Linked DNA regions of Homo sapiens: all the other regions are linked to region 3. The links are contacts of gene promoters, found by promoter capture Hi-C in human tissues and cell types (Jung and others, 2019). All regions are on one chromosome and are shown on one strand. Each heading gives the region's core, a stretch centred on a gene start or on the middle of the fragment in contact. The rest is flanking DNA. Distances are from core to core; before and after follow the strand shown. Region 1 overlaps GLRA1 (glycine receptor alpha 1). Region 2 overlaps LINC01933 (long intergenic non-protein coding RNA 1933). Region 3 holds the start of GLRA1 (glycine receptor alpha 1).

Region 1 (4,696 bases), core at 640-3,139, 38 kb before region 3:
AGTATAGTGACAGGAGGGACACATAAGCAGGTTGGTACAGTGGTAATTGTAAGTGACAAGTGCTGTTGTGGAAACTGTAAAATGTATTATGAGAATGGACAGAAGGGACCCATCCCAGCCTTGGGTGAAGGGCACACGTGAACTCACACACACGTACGCGCATGTTACAGTGGGGAGGCTTTCTATGGAAATAATTCTAAGCTGAGTCTTAAAGGAGAATAGGAATTGGCAAGGGAAAGGAGGCTGGAGTGGGTGCTCTGGGCAGTGGCCTAGCAGCCACCACCAGAAGCCTGTAAAGCAGAGAGCGAGAGACGACCTGGCTGGAGAGCTGTAAGCAATCGGTGCAGCTAGAGTATGCAGTGGGAGAGGGAGGAAATGAAGCAGGGTGAATCACAGGGAGCCTCCTCAGCTTTGCAAAAGAACTTGGGTTTAATGCTGAGGGTGATGGGGAGCCATAGGAAGTGTTTAAATAGGAGCAGTGACGTGGTTAGATTTGTGTTTTGGAAAGGCTAGTGTGGGATAAAGTAGACTGGAAGGGGGCAAGTTGGAAGCCAACGAGAACCCTTTGCAGTCATGTAAGCCAGCCATGATGGAAGCCTGAACTAGATTAGGGGCGGGTGGATGTTCCGAAATGGATAGATTAGAGTTAACTTTAGGCTGCCCTGATTATTTTTTTTCACAAGCTAGATCACTTCCTTAACATAAGTACAATTGATTTTTCTGTTGAAAAAACAAAAACAAAAAGTCTGAGAAAAGTTTTAAAATATCATTACACTTATTCATAATTACTAATATAATATTCACCCCTTGCAGAAATTTGAAAAATATATAAATACTGTAGGAAGAAAATAAAAATTATTCATAACTTTTTAATTCAGAGATAATCATTCTTACAATTTTGGTATTTTTTTTCCTAGGCATTTCTTCTAGTGTAATAGATTCATTCTAAACTTTTTTACTGTGAAAAGTTTTAAATGTATTCAACAGTAGAGGAAATATACAATTAACCCAATATACCCATTTCAGCTTGTATAACCAGCAGTCTTCTGCCATTCTGCAGTTGAATGTTAAACTTAAAAACAGGTCTTCACATTTTCTTTTACTCTAAAAATTTGACTTGTTGTATAATTTTGTTTTTGTAATCCTGGGTGTTTGGCAGGTGCTTGCCCTGCTAGGTCTTTGGCTATTTTCAGATATTATGTATTCACTCAAAACATTTAATGTGACAGTAAAGACATCCGAGCCTCATGGTATACCACTGGAGACTTGAGAAAAACCCAGCTGATTCCCCACTTCCTTGGTGGAGACCAATGCAGAGGATAAATATTTCATGGAGAGATATCTCCAGCAGGAACTAACAGCTTGTGTTTTGACTTACTCACCATGGTTGTCTCAGCAATGGAACCAAAGCTGTTGATGAAAATGTTGCAGCTCACGTTCACTGGGGGACCTGCCAATCAAGAGAGATTCCTGCTTAGCCCCAAGGCCATGGAAGAACCCACAGGGTAGGACTCATTCCCAGAACACTGACTTCTGGAATGGATCGCCTTTGGTGGAGGAGATCCTTGCTTGCTCTCCACCCCACCCCCAAGCACCTGGGATTCCCAGCCACCATTTAACATCTCTATGCCAGACTTCCTGGTCCCCAAGTGAGCACCAGGTACAGAATACCAGAGGCTGAGCTGAGATGTACTTTCATTAACACAGGATGATTCATCAGCCGCCATATGGTTGAAATTCCTTCCCCAAGTCCCATTGGCTGCCTTTCAGCCACAAATTAGTGGCTGAAATATATTTATGTCTACAACATTTGGAGGCCATCTTGGGAATTACAAGGAACAGCAAGCTCCTTGCCTTCAACTTATGAACCAAGAATGATTGTCTGAAAGGCATTGATGGGAATTACCAGCTGAGGAATCCAGAAGGAACCTCAGGGGAAGTCCACAGACTTTGTTAAATACTTTCTGAGCAAGTCTTTTGAATCCTACTGCAAAGCGTAGGAAAGAAATGGAGGATTATTCACTGGTTTGCTGTCTCATTCCTAGAGGAGATGTTGTCTCATTGAAGCCCAATCTCTTCACTTTATAGTATTAATTATAGCAGTTGCCATTTACTAAACATTACGGGGGTTCCTGCTGTGCTGAGAGTATTATTAACATCATTTCATTTCATCATTTCAACAACTCCAGGAGAAGGTATGGTTATTACCTTCATTTTACAGGAGAGAAAACAGAGGCTCAGAGAAGCTATTTGTTCATGCCTACATAACTAGTAAATGGGTGAGTCAGAGTTTGAGTTCAGATTTGTCTAACTCCAAGGGTGCTCATCTTAATGGCTATTCTGTAGGAAACAGGTTTAGAGGAAGGAAGGGGCATGCTCACGATCACACAGACAGTGGCAGAGTCCAGAATTTTCAGCACTGGGTTTCCAAATAAGCTGACAAAAAGGGCTGACATAAAATAACCAAAGAGAAATGCAAGACCATGGGTAAGAGTGGTAAAAGCAGCAGGAGTCCAGGTGAGAGAAGTTCTGGAGAATAAGGCACGAAAGACCTCAGAAAGGTGGTGGCCTGGAGATGACTTTGAAGGTGAATAGGACTTGGATAAATGGTCACAGCCCTTCACATAAAGATTGTAATTTGCAATTTGTGATTTGCTTTTCAGGTCCACTTTCTTGATTCCTATGAGGTACTGAGGTAGACAGGGCAGAATTCTTGTTCCTACTTGACAAAGGTAGCACCAAGAGTTTTAGTAACTCACCTAGGCTCATTCAACTAACAAGTGGTAGAACCAGGACTTGAACCAAAGTTTTCTGATTGTGGAAAGAAGAAAGTAGATATGTCCTTATGCCCTCTGGCACCCATTGCATTCTGTCCCTCTTGAAAAAGTAGCCCAAGCATTTTGCTCAAACTAAGCTAGGATCAGAAGTCTTGGCATATAGGAGGGGACTCAGTCTTGGGATGAGAAACTAGGTTTTTCCTTCAAGGGATTATCAGGATTTCTGGGTTTTGGACATAACTCCAGCACTCACTGGTTGTTTACCTCGGCCATGCCTTTTCTCTGTCCTGGGCCTCAATTTCCTCATCAATCTGGAGAGAGAGTAAGTAGCTCTTGATCTAGGCGGTCATTCTCAGCTTCAGTGGTTTGGAATTCCTTTATGGAAGCTATCCATTTACATTTCAGGGTTGTAAGATTTTAGGGCTGGAAGGTTTCTTAAAGGTCACCTCATCAATTTCTTCCCAAACTGAAGTGCAGACAGGGTTATCTGCAGAAGAATCATCTGGGAACCTGTTAAACTACAGATTCTTTGGCCCAACCCCACACTAAGTAAAACCAAATCTCTGGAGGTTAGCCCAAGAGTCTAGTGTTCAGAGAGCTACCTGGGTGAGTCTCATGCACAGCCAGGTTTGGGGACCACTGCTGTAGACCAGCTACCCATTCAAGGCTGAGTGCCTGAATACTTCCAGCAGTGGGAAACTCATTTTGTCTTAAGCAGCCCTTTCCATAGTTGGATAGCTCTGTCTGCTAAATTTTTTTGTCCTTGTGTTGAGTGGAAGTCTGCCTCCTTGTCACTTCCACCTAAATAAAGCTCAGGTGGAAAAAACTTGAATGGTCAGGATTTTTCTCCTTTATTTAGACTCAGACCAGGTTTTTTTTGTTGTTGCCTCATGCCATTAAGATACCCCAAGGAGTTACTGCCTATGCCTTGAAATGATGTGCACAGAGTTCCCACCCAGTCCCTGCAAGTGTCTGGCACTGTGACTCCCATATAAATTAGTTTCTGATTTATGTGTGCGAGAGGACACTGGCCAAAAGGATCCTATGGGAAGGTGCGGTTCATTGAAATAAATCTGAAATTAAATTATCTTTGAGAAAATTACAATTTAGCTGCCTTTGGCAGCAGGATAATGTATATATTTCACTAAATGTTAAAGTTTAATTTTGCTTTTTTGTATGTATTTGCATTGGGCTGTGCCCCTAATCCTAGGAGCCATTATAATACACAAAGTCATAAAGAAGACACAGAATAACAGAGCTGGAATGGCCTAGTCCTGCTGGATCATTTTACAGATGCAGAAACAGAGGCTGAGATACAGTAAGTGACTCATTTGGGGTCATGCCTGTCAGGTAAGTAGAGGGAGGACTGGAATGCTGTTTTAGTGCCCTTTACTTCTACCTCACAGTTTCTTTGCCATTGTACTCTGCAGACTGTGCTTGCCATTCCTGGCTACCTGTGTTTTCACGAGGGTCAGGAGCAGGGAAAATTTCTAGCACCTAAGGCAGCTGCTGAGTGATGGATCCCTCCGTAGAGGTTTTAAACAATGCAGACCTCTTTCTATCATGTTGGAGTCATAGGGGCCCTGATCCTCAATGGCCTTTTCAGGAGCTCTATGGTTTGTATGGGGTTTTAGGGAATCTGATTTGTGTCGGTGGAAGCAGGAAAGGCATCAAAGGGCTCAGGGCAAGAAAATCCTCTCAGCAATTTTTCAGGCCTCAGTACAAAGGAGGGCAGAGAAAACTTCTCAGCTCCTGCGGTGGGGCTCCAGGAAGCTGCACCTCATTCTCAGTCAGGTGGGGGTCGAGGGAGTTAAGGCTAGTTGCAGGGTTGGGACGGGCCTAAAAGATGAACTAGTTCTGTAGATATTGGGCCCAAGTGTTCCGAGTAAGCTTCTCAGAGTGGGAAGGTTGGACGGACC
Region 2 (4,701 bases), core at 692-3,191, 50 kb after region 3:
GCAATTCTCTAAGAAAGGGACTATGATTCCTCTCTTGTAGATGAGAATATGAAGGTTCAGAGAAGTACACTTGCTTGCTAAATACACAGTTTGTATGTGGAAGAGCTGGATTTTGAATCCAGGCTGTCTCCACACTCCCTGCTAGTAATGGCTCGGCCTCCTCAAATCAGTCTGGGTTCCTTCTATTAGCACCCTTTCCCCCAGAACAGTGACTGTCAGCCTGGGCTACCCAGTGGCTCTCAGCATGCGCTACCCATTGGAATTACCTGTTACCTCCAATGGGTAATAGGGAAGCTTTAAGAACTTGCATGCTGGGGTCCCACCCTGAGGCACAGATATGATTGGTCTGGGGTGTGGCCTGAGCCATGGGACTTTAGAAAACTCTGTAGGTGGTTCCAATGTGCAGCCAGGGTTGAGACTCTGAGTTGCAAAGTTTTAGTATCGTATTCGCCTCCTGTATTTGTCACAGGTTGGCTAGGTGTTTGCTTAATCAAGGGAACTCAGACTCAAATACCTATGGATAAGGCAAAAATGTAAAAACAGTAGTAATTAAAAAAATAGAGATAAAGTGTGATGATTGACTTAAAGTGTGGCAATTGACTTTGACCTCAGCTTTGGGAGGATACTAGGGAGTGGTGGGGAACAGTAAACTGGAGAGCCCTTGGACATCTAAAGAGGAGCCCCTCTACCCCAATCAGTTATTGCCATCTGGGCCCAGTGTGGTCAGATCTCATTTTTTTCAAAAGAAGATGGCAGTTAGTATTTATTAAGGGAAAGCTCCCTGTTTTTAAATGTGGGTGATTACTTTTAAAACAGTTAAACATCATCTGGATTAAAGATGTTTTATACCTTGTGGGCTACCAGTTTGTATTCTCTGTCTTAATTATTTTTCTCTACAAACTACTCAGATCCCTGGTTGTTAAGGTTTATTTATCTGATTTGCCATAAACCACTGTGTGTTGTTAATTTACATTAAATAATGTAATTTTTAAATTGAGAAATGTAACACTTTTATTTCATTATGGAAAATATAAAACATGCAAATTATGAACACAGAAAAATTATTGCCTTTCTACTCAGAAATAAACATGCTGTATATACTTTCAGTCTTTATTTCTCTATCATATACAGATCTTTATATATAGAACGTGTTACAAATGCAGATCCCTGAATCCCACTCTTGGGCTAATTCAGTATGTCTGGAAGTAGGCCTGGGAATCTGAATGTATAACATGTTTTGAGAAGATTATAATATATACAATTATAATTGAGATGCTCTTTTCTTAAAAATGGGCTTTAAAAACTTAATCCGTAATGAAATTTTTAAATGACATTTAGTATTCTATATAATTCTTGAAAAATTCATTTGAATATATCACAATATAAACAATGTTTTAAAAAACTGAAATGAACATCCCTCTAAATAGTTTTACATACCCATTTAATTAGGATAAATTTCTACAAGTAGAGTTGTTGGATTAAAGAATATGTACATTTTCAGGCTTCCAATATAAATGGGCAAATTGTCTTCCAGAAAGGATACAATTTTTTTTAAATTACATGTTTATTTTTTGTAGAGAGCATCAATTTTTCCATACTCCTGCTAAAACCTGGAATTCTCATCTGAAAGATCAATTTAGTAGCAGCAAATATCTTACTTTCATTTGAATTTACCTGCTGCATGCTAGAGAAGTTTAACATTTTATTTTTATTTTTTGCCATTTTTATTTCTGTTAATGATTGTCCATTTCTTATTCTTGTTATATTAAGAGTATACCTTTTTCTGTCATGTGTATCGAAACTGCTTTTTTCCAATTTAAAAATTTGCTTTCCAAAGCCTTTTTTATACTGAAGTTCTAATTCAGTATAGTCAAATCTGTAGATGTTTTTTCCTTTATGGATTCTGCATTTACTTATATGTAGGATTGTTGATACAATCTAAGTTAAAAAATTCATACATTTTCTTCTTCTTTTAAGAATTACATTTTAACTTTAATTTTTTAACCTATTGTAAATTAATTTTGGCATATAATACAAGATGTGGGTTGAAATTTTATTTGTTTTTTTTTCTGCTATTTAAATAGTCAAGTTTTCAATGTGTCTGAGTAAATTTTAACTTACTTTTTCCTAGAAAAGAAACTATTTCAATGAGATTTTTCAAATTTATTAGCCTGGAGTTATGCACAGTATTCTTTATAGTAAAAAAATTATTCTTATTTCCAATATTTTTAATTTGCTTCAGTCTCTTCCTCTGTTAGGCATTCTATAGGTATTTTTAAACATTTACATTTAATGGTTATTTGGGTAACTTAACAATTCATTAATTTTTTGCTTTTTGATTTGTTAATTTTTGCTTATCTTAGTTTATTATTTTTCTAATATTGTCTTCAATTCTTACATTTATTTCCACTTTTTCTTGTTGAGTAATGACACATAAAGTTTTAAATTTTAATATACATATAGCTTTGACCACCTCACATATATTTTGGAATGTAGTAGCCTCAAATTTTATTATTCTTGAAATAATTTGTAATAAGGATTTTGATTTCCACTTTCAAAAGTTATTCAGGAGAACATTAATAATTTCTAAGAAGTCGATATATTAAAACTTGAAACTTTAATTTCAAATTTTATTGCATTATGCTCTGAAACGTGATCTGTACATTTATTTTTGCAGCATATTGAGGTATTCATTGTGGCTTAATAAATGACAGATTTTTATGACTTTTATGAGTGCTGGAAGGAAGATATATTCCCTTATTGTAGAGTATCTAGTTTGTTAAATCAACATAATTAGTTTATGTTATTTGCATCCTTTTGTCTTAATTTTTGTTCACCTTTCCAGTCAAAGATTTAGATGTATTTAATTATCTCACTGCTAATCTTTTCTCCTCAATATCTATGTAACGTAATTTATATATTTCAAAGAAATTTCTTGGTTAATAAAAAACTAATATTTTTCATTATGCATTTTATCCTTTATATTATTATTTGTTTAATTAAAAAAAATTTTTTTTTGAGGTGTGATCTCACTCTGTCACCCGGTCTGGGGTGTAGTGGTGCAATTACAGCTCAATGCAGCCTTGACCTCCCCAGACTCAGGTGATTCTCCTACCTCAGCCTCCTGAGTAGCTGGGGCCACAGGTGGGTGCCACCATGCCTGGCTTATTTTTGTATTTTTGTAGTGCCAGGGTTCCACCAGGATGCCCAGGCTGGTCTCGAACTCCTGAACTCAAGTGATCCACCTGCCTTGCTTGGCCTCCTCAAGTGCTGGGATTATACCTGTAAGCCACTGTGCCCGGCTAAGGCTTCTTTTTAAAACTTTTTCTACTTTTCACATAATACTATTGTGAACCTGATTTCCTAATGTTTAGGTGGTCTGTCATGTCTTTCTCCATTTCTCTAACTTTTGCACTTTTTTTTTCCTTTGGTATGGGTTACTTGGTTTTAGAGATATCTCCTTTCAATAGTATGAAATTTAGTCATGTGTGTGTGTTGTGGGAAGTCACTCATTTTGAGAGTTTTTTTTTTTTTTGCCATGTAAGAGAGTTGTTAAACTGATTTATATTTATTTCTGAATGTCTATAACGGTCTTATTTATTTTTCTAATGTGAATTGTCTATTAGAAAGTAAATTTTCTTTTCTGAGAGTGAGACATAAAGGAAATTTTTGGGCAAATGAAATAAACTGAGTTTTTGGGATTAATAAATCAATTTGTAAATCTAAGGATTAATAAAAATAGAATGTTAATTTTCATGGTTTCTTGATATTTACTAAAATGGTTGAATTTTTTTCTGATCTTTTAAATGTATTTTTCTCTGTCACATGTTTTGGTTATTTTTTCCATAGGTAAAGAAAATGTATTAGTATTACTTTTAATTGACACATAATAATTGAACATATTTATGGAAAGCAGTGTGATATTTTGAACATGTATATACTATATAATGATCAAATCAGGGGAGTTAGCATATCTATCACTTCAAATATTTATCATTTCTTTGTGCTGGGAACATTCAAAATCTTCTATCTATTTGAGAATATACAATAAATTATTGTTGACTGTAGTCATCCCACAATGTTAGAGAACACTGGAACTTATTCCTCTTAGCTCACTGCAATTTTTGTCCATTAACCAACGTATCCCTGTTTCCCTGCACCCCTACTCTTCCCAGTCTTTAGTAACCACTATTCTACTTTCTACTTATGTGAAATCAACTTTGTTAGCTTCCACATATGAGTGAGAACATGTGGTTATTTATCTTTCTGTGACTGGCTTACTGCACTTAACATGTCTTCCAGACTCATCCATGTTGCCATGATGAATGAGAGTATTTCATTCTTTTAAAATAACTGAATAGTATTCCATTATGTATATATACCACATTTTCTTTGTCCATTCATCTGCTGATGGATGCACGTTGATTTCATATCTTGGTTATCGTGAATAGTTCTGAAATAAACATAGGAGGTCAGATATCTCCTCAACATACTGATTTCCTTTTCTCTGTATGTATACCTAGTGGTGGGATAACTGGATCATGTGGTAGTTCTATTTTTAGTTTTTAAAGCAGCCTCTGTTCTGTTTTCCTTAATGGGGGAAATTCCATAAGAATTTATATAACATAAGAATTTTCATTTTTACCAATAGTAAGAGTTTCTCTTTCTCTGCATCATCACCAGCATTTGTTATTTTTTGTC
Region 3 (4,489 bases), core at 652-3,151:
ATTTGTAGTTCTATTAAATATGCAGGGGATAAAGGATCTCATATTATAAATAGAATACTTCCTGCCCTTTCCCCCATAAAGTAGCCACATTTTGATACGTTTCATAAGGCCCTGGATTGTTGTACTTTTTCATTCTATCTGACTCTCTGACTATTTGCAGTCTGATCTGTGGTCAGGACTCTGTGGCCTACAAAATAATTGTTTGAACAGGAGATTAGAAGCTTTAGCATTGGGTATCTCAGATAAGGGGGGATGCCTTTTCTTCATCTCAAGAGACATGAAAAGAGACTGAAATACAGAAACTTACTATTTGAGGGGAGGTGTCATTTAATAAACCAGCCAACAGATTAGTCAAATCAGCAATTCCTATGAACTGTAATAAAACAAAAATTATTTGCTGTTTTATGTTGGGAGAGGGTAATATTTGGTGACCACTTATTTTTAAAAACAATTTGGGGTGGGTTTTTCAAATGACTGTTAATCCAATGCCACAGTAAAATATGAGAGGCAGGCATCTAAAATGAGGAAGATTAATGATCCCTGCATGTCATGGAAGAAGAATAATGTTTTTCAATTCATATAAGTGGAATTTATCATAGCCATCTCTGAAGATGGTATGATTCACACACTTACTAAAGGACTATCTATTTCAATGCTTCTTAAAGAGGTGATTTTTCACTTTTCACTTCTACTAACATAAGAAAGACAAGTCTTCAGGCAGAAAATTTTAACCTGAGAGACAGTGGATGGGATAACTCAGCTGTTGAGTCAAATATAAGCATAAATTTAAAAACAAAGCAAATGAAGATTGCTCATGAGTTCAGGATCTGCAGCTAACAGAGTTTGGAAAGGTGGGTTGGGGAAAGAGGCAGTCAAAGTTTCAAAAGGGAAATGTTTCCCAGTATGTTCCTAAATAGATCCACTCTGCACCCAAGTTCAGGGCTTTACACACTGAGGTTATAATACTATTGTTTCCAAGCACTCAGCCTTAGTAATCCCCCTCCCTCTTCGCAGAAAAAGAAAACAACAGCAAAAAAGGACAGAAAATGAAATGATCTGTGTCCAGCGAGTTTGAGTGCAACCTTCCCCGTCACCGCTAGTTGTCACTTGGCTCCCAGACGGGAAAGCTGAGGTTTTCGGCACTGCGGTTAGGGAGAATGCAGTCCTAATTAAACTGAGTAACTCCTAAAGCTTCCCTTTAAAGTCCTCAGCCGAGTGAAAGCCAACATGCAGTGGGGCTGGGGACCAATAGTGGGGGGTGTAGCAGACAGAAGGACAAACAAACCGTAAGAAACAGGCAAACAGCTGCCAGAACAGCGACTGTCTCAGACCTCCACGCACAAGCCAGACACCCTGCGGGCGGGGGTGGGGTGGGTGGCGGGGGGTGGGAGGGGGGAGAAGGGAGACGGGGGATGGAAGGACCCGATTGCAGTGGAATACAGCACCCCTCTTCCCCAAAATGATGGGACCACGGACAGAGGTAGCCTCCGTACTCTTTCCCCCCATTTCCATCAGAGCGATGTGGTCAGTAGAAAATTGCATACCTGAAGAATACAATGGTCTCCCAAAGGTAGAGTCGAAGAGTATTGAAGCTGTACATTTTTCAGGTCCTTGTGCTTTGTAGTCCACGAGTTATGGGGGCAAAAATGTTTCAAATTGGCACTTACAAAACCAGAAAGCGCTATTGCAAAAAATAATCCAGATGTTAAAGGGAGGCGGGGAACAGGGGCGCGGAGGGAGAGCCCCAGGGGAAATTGGAGCGAGGGGGTCGTAGATACCACGGACAGCGGCGGCTGCGAGGCGTTTCAGCACCACGGAGAGCGTCCAGACCTGCTTTTCAGGAGCGCGAAGAGTATTGCTGTTTGTTAAACTCCAGCGTGTCTGTTGGCTCCCTGCGGCGCTGGGGAGGCACGTTTGGGGGTGGGTATATTTCCTTTTTTTTTTTTTTTTTTTTAAACCCCTGTTTTTCTGTTTAAACGGCCAGCTCCCTGCAAGGAAAAAAATCTTCTGTGGAGATCAGAGCGCTGGCCTCGGACCGTTGGATTGGGCGAGCATCTTGGGTAAAGAGAACAGAGCTTTATGGCTCTGGGCCGGCCTGAGGGGGTTAGGGGCGAGGGGAAAGCGGTTGACGGCGCTGCCTTCAGTTAAATCTCGGAGAGTGTGCCAGGCTGGCGCATCGCAATCCAGTCTCGGAATCTCGTTCTCCTGCCTCTGTGCGGGTCTGCTGTCGCCTTGCTATTCCTGTTTCCCGGTCCCCGCCGAATAAGTTGTGATCACTGCAGAAAAGGTGTCCCATTGCTCGGGGCCGCAGGCGTCAGAGAGCCCAGGGCAAGTTTCAGGGGCTACCGGGGTCCCTGGCTACCCCGCGGGGCTCTGAAGCCCAATGTCTCAGATGCATCTCGGTTTTCTGAGCTCGCTCATCTTCCCTTGGTCAAGACTCCTTCAGATCTTCAGACTTTCTTACTGCATTAATTTAACAAACTGGAGGCGTGGGGGATGGGAGGGGTGATAGCCGATGGGAGGGGGTTGAGGGGGAAAAAAAAAGGGGGAAAACTCCTTAGTATCTTCAAACCCTCCCACTCGAGGTGTTCATTGGCCCGCGGCTACGAAAACCAGATCTTCTCCCGGTATTCGGCCAATAGCCTGTTAGACTCCGGGTTGAATTTAACGCTTAGAGTGCTGGACGAGATCTGCGCAATCCCCTTCCTACCCCCAAGCTTCTTTCCGTGTAAGCGGTGGGGTGAGAGAGGATATGGAATTAATCTCTCTAGGTCTCTCAAAAGGTTGCCTTGATTTTTAAAGAATGCAGTTGTATGTGAGTAAAACACATGGTTCCTTGTTAAGACGTGCTCTGGGCTCAATTTATCCTTTTAAAAGGGAAGAGTTGAACCAGATCCCTGATTTTTTTTAAAAGAGCTCTGAAGTTATAATATTTGGCCCTAGAAAGAAAGGAGGAATATCCAAAAAGAAGTCTGGTGGATAAAGACCCCCTCCAGGGTCACCGCAGCAGGGAAATACGAGAGAAATTCTTTGAGCAGTTTCCAGCGTTGAGTGGGAGGTGTTGTGGCTGGCACCCTTTTGAGAGGGAATAAAAGCACCTTCTTCCAACTGGACAGGAGACAGTTTTATTCGCCTTTTATATGCTGGGGAAACTGAGCCTCACAGAGCTGTGGCTTGCTCCAAATTGATGGCAGAGCCAAGTTGTACACACAGGGATGTGTTATGACTCACATTTCGTTATTTCTTCCTCTGTTTTCCCACCTTATTTGAATCTTAGAAACCAGCTATACATTTCACTGTAAAGCCCATCTGGTGAGATGGAGTTAATCAGATTTTCCCCAAGCTGTGGGACTATAGGATAAATACTTTAAAGGATTTTCTGGCTGATTTGAACTCATTGGGACTCTGGGGACTCTCTCGCCCAAGGCTACTGAGAGAGGACAACCCCTCCTCCTTACCCAATAACGTTAGAAACTCCTTTGGCTGATCTCCCAAGAATACTCATCAGCTCAGCTCCCTCCAAGGCTAGGCCTTCTCCCAAGCAGAAAGGATCTGAAAAGTCTTGTTTACTAGCCTCTTACCAGTAGGATTTCCCCTCCCCTCCCCCTGTACTACAATAGCATACCCCACACTACCGGTTCTGTTATTGGCTCCCACAGTCTAGAATTTCCATGATATTCTGCATAGTGACTGAAAAGGAAATTTTGTTTTGAAGGTGTATATTAATATGAGTTGGATACAAATTTAAATATAATGTATAATATATGTATTTTTATATATGTAATCAAGAGCTAACCTTTATTAGCATGGTTTCTATGTGTCAGAAATTACTGTGAATTCACATAATCTCATTTACTTTTCACAGTCAAACCTTGAGGTAAGTATTATCTTTGCGTATGTGTTTGTGTACATTTGTGAGTATGCTAGGGCAAAACCAGCTTGTAGGTTACTGTGTATACAAATTTATTTATGATTTGTATCGTGCCTAATTCTGAAGTGATTTTGATATGCATATGTGTATTTGTACGTTTGTATTTGTAAATGGGTCTTTCTCTACATACACATAGATGTGTATGTATCTATGTGTGTCTTTGTGGTGGTCCTAGAAGTACTGAAACAAGCCGTAAGCTGGCAATTTTGTCCTGGTTCCTCATCTGACTAGGAAATACCTGCATAGCCAGGTGTGATGCAGTATGTGGAAATTTGTTTTTCTTTTCCTTCAAGGGGTGCTGAGTGTGTGTTGCTGTTCATGAGTGTGAGTGGCTCCAAGGCTGTGGCCTGTGCAGGAGGTAAGAGTAATTATTACCTGGGGTGGTGGAGGGGCACCTGTTTGTTAATAGGCCTCTGTTTACTATGAGGCTGATACTTTCATTTAATCAGTACACATGAAATGAGCATGTGCCAAGTATTGGGGATATGACAGTATATAAGATAAACAACACAGTATATACTGATAGTGTATAAAATAAACAGTATATAAGATAAACTT

Evidence for each region. The method cuts DNA at HindIII sites, captures the fragments that hold promoters and counts their contacts. A contact is called where the count stands out against the background at its distance.
Region 1: a fragment that was not itself captured here is called in contact with the fragment with the promoter of GLRA1 in region 3 in 1 of the 25 tissues and cell types used here (H1 embryonic stem cells).
Region 2: a fragment that was not itself captured here is called in contact with the fragment with the promoter of GLRA1 in region 3 in 1 of the 25 tissues and cell types used here (H1 embryonic stem cells).

The regions. Positions count from the first base shown.
Region 1 is chr5:151,885,339-151,890,034 of GRCh38, forward strand. GLRA1 (glycine receptor alpha 1) reads right to left here. Exons shown (of 9, transcript NM_000171.4): 3 at 1,383-1,450. Among named protein-coding and RNA genes, the nearest start is that of GLRA1, 37 kb to the right of the region's middle. The HindIII fragment of the contact is 8,525 bases long and covers 1-4,696 here.
Region 2 is chr5:151,973,377-151,978,077 of GRCh38, forward strand. All of the region lies in intron 1 of LINC01933 (long intergenic non-protein coding RNA 1933), which reads left to right. Among named protein-coding and RNA genes, the nearest start is that of LINC01933, 17 kb to the left of the region's middle. The HindIII fragment of the contact is 5,852 bases long and covers 1-4,701 here.
Region 3 is chr5:151,922,950-151,927,438 of GRCh38, forward strand. It overlaps GLRA1 (glycine receptor alpha 1), which reads right to left and starts at 1,902. Exons shown (of 9, transcript NM_000171.4): 1 at 1,545-1,902. The coding sequence starts at 1,600. RefSeq lists a silencer at 2,182-2,394. The HindIII fragment of the contact is 3,327 bases long and covers 707-4,033 here.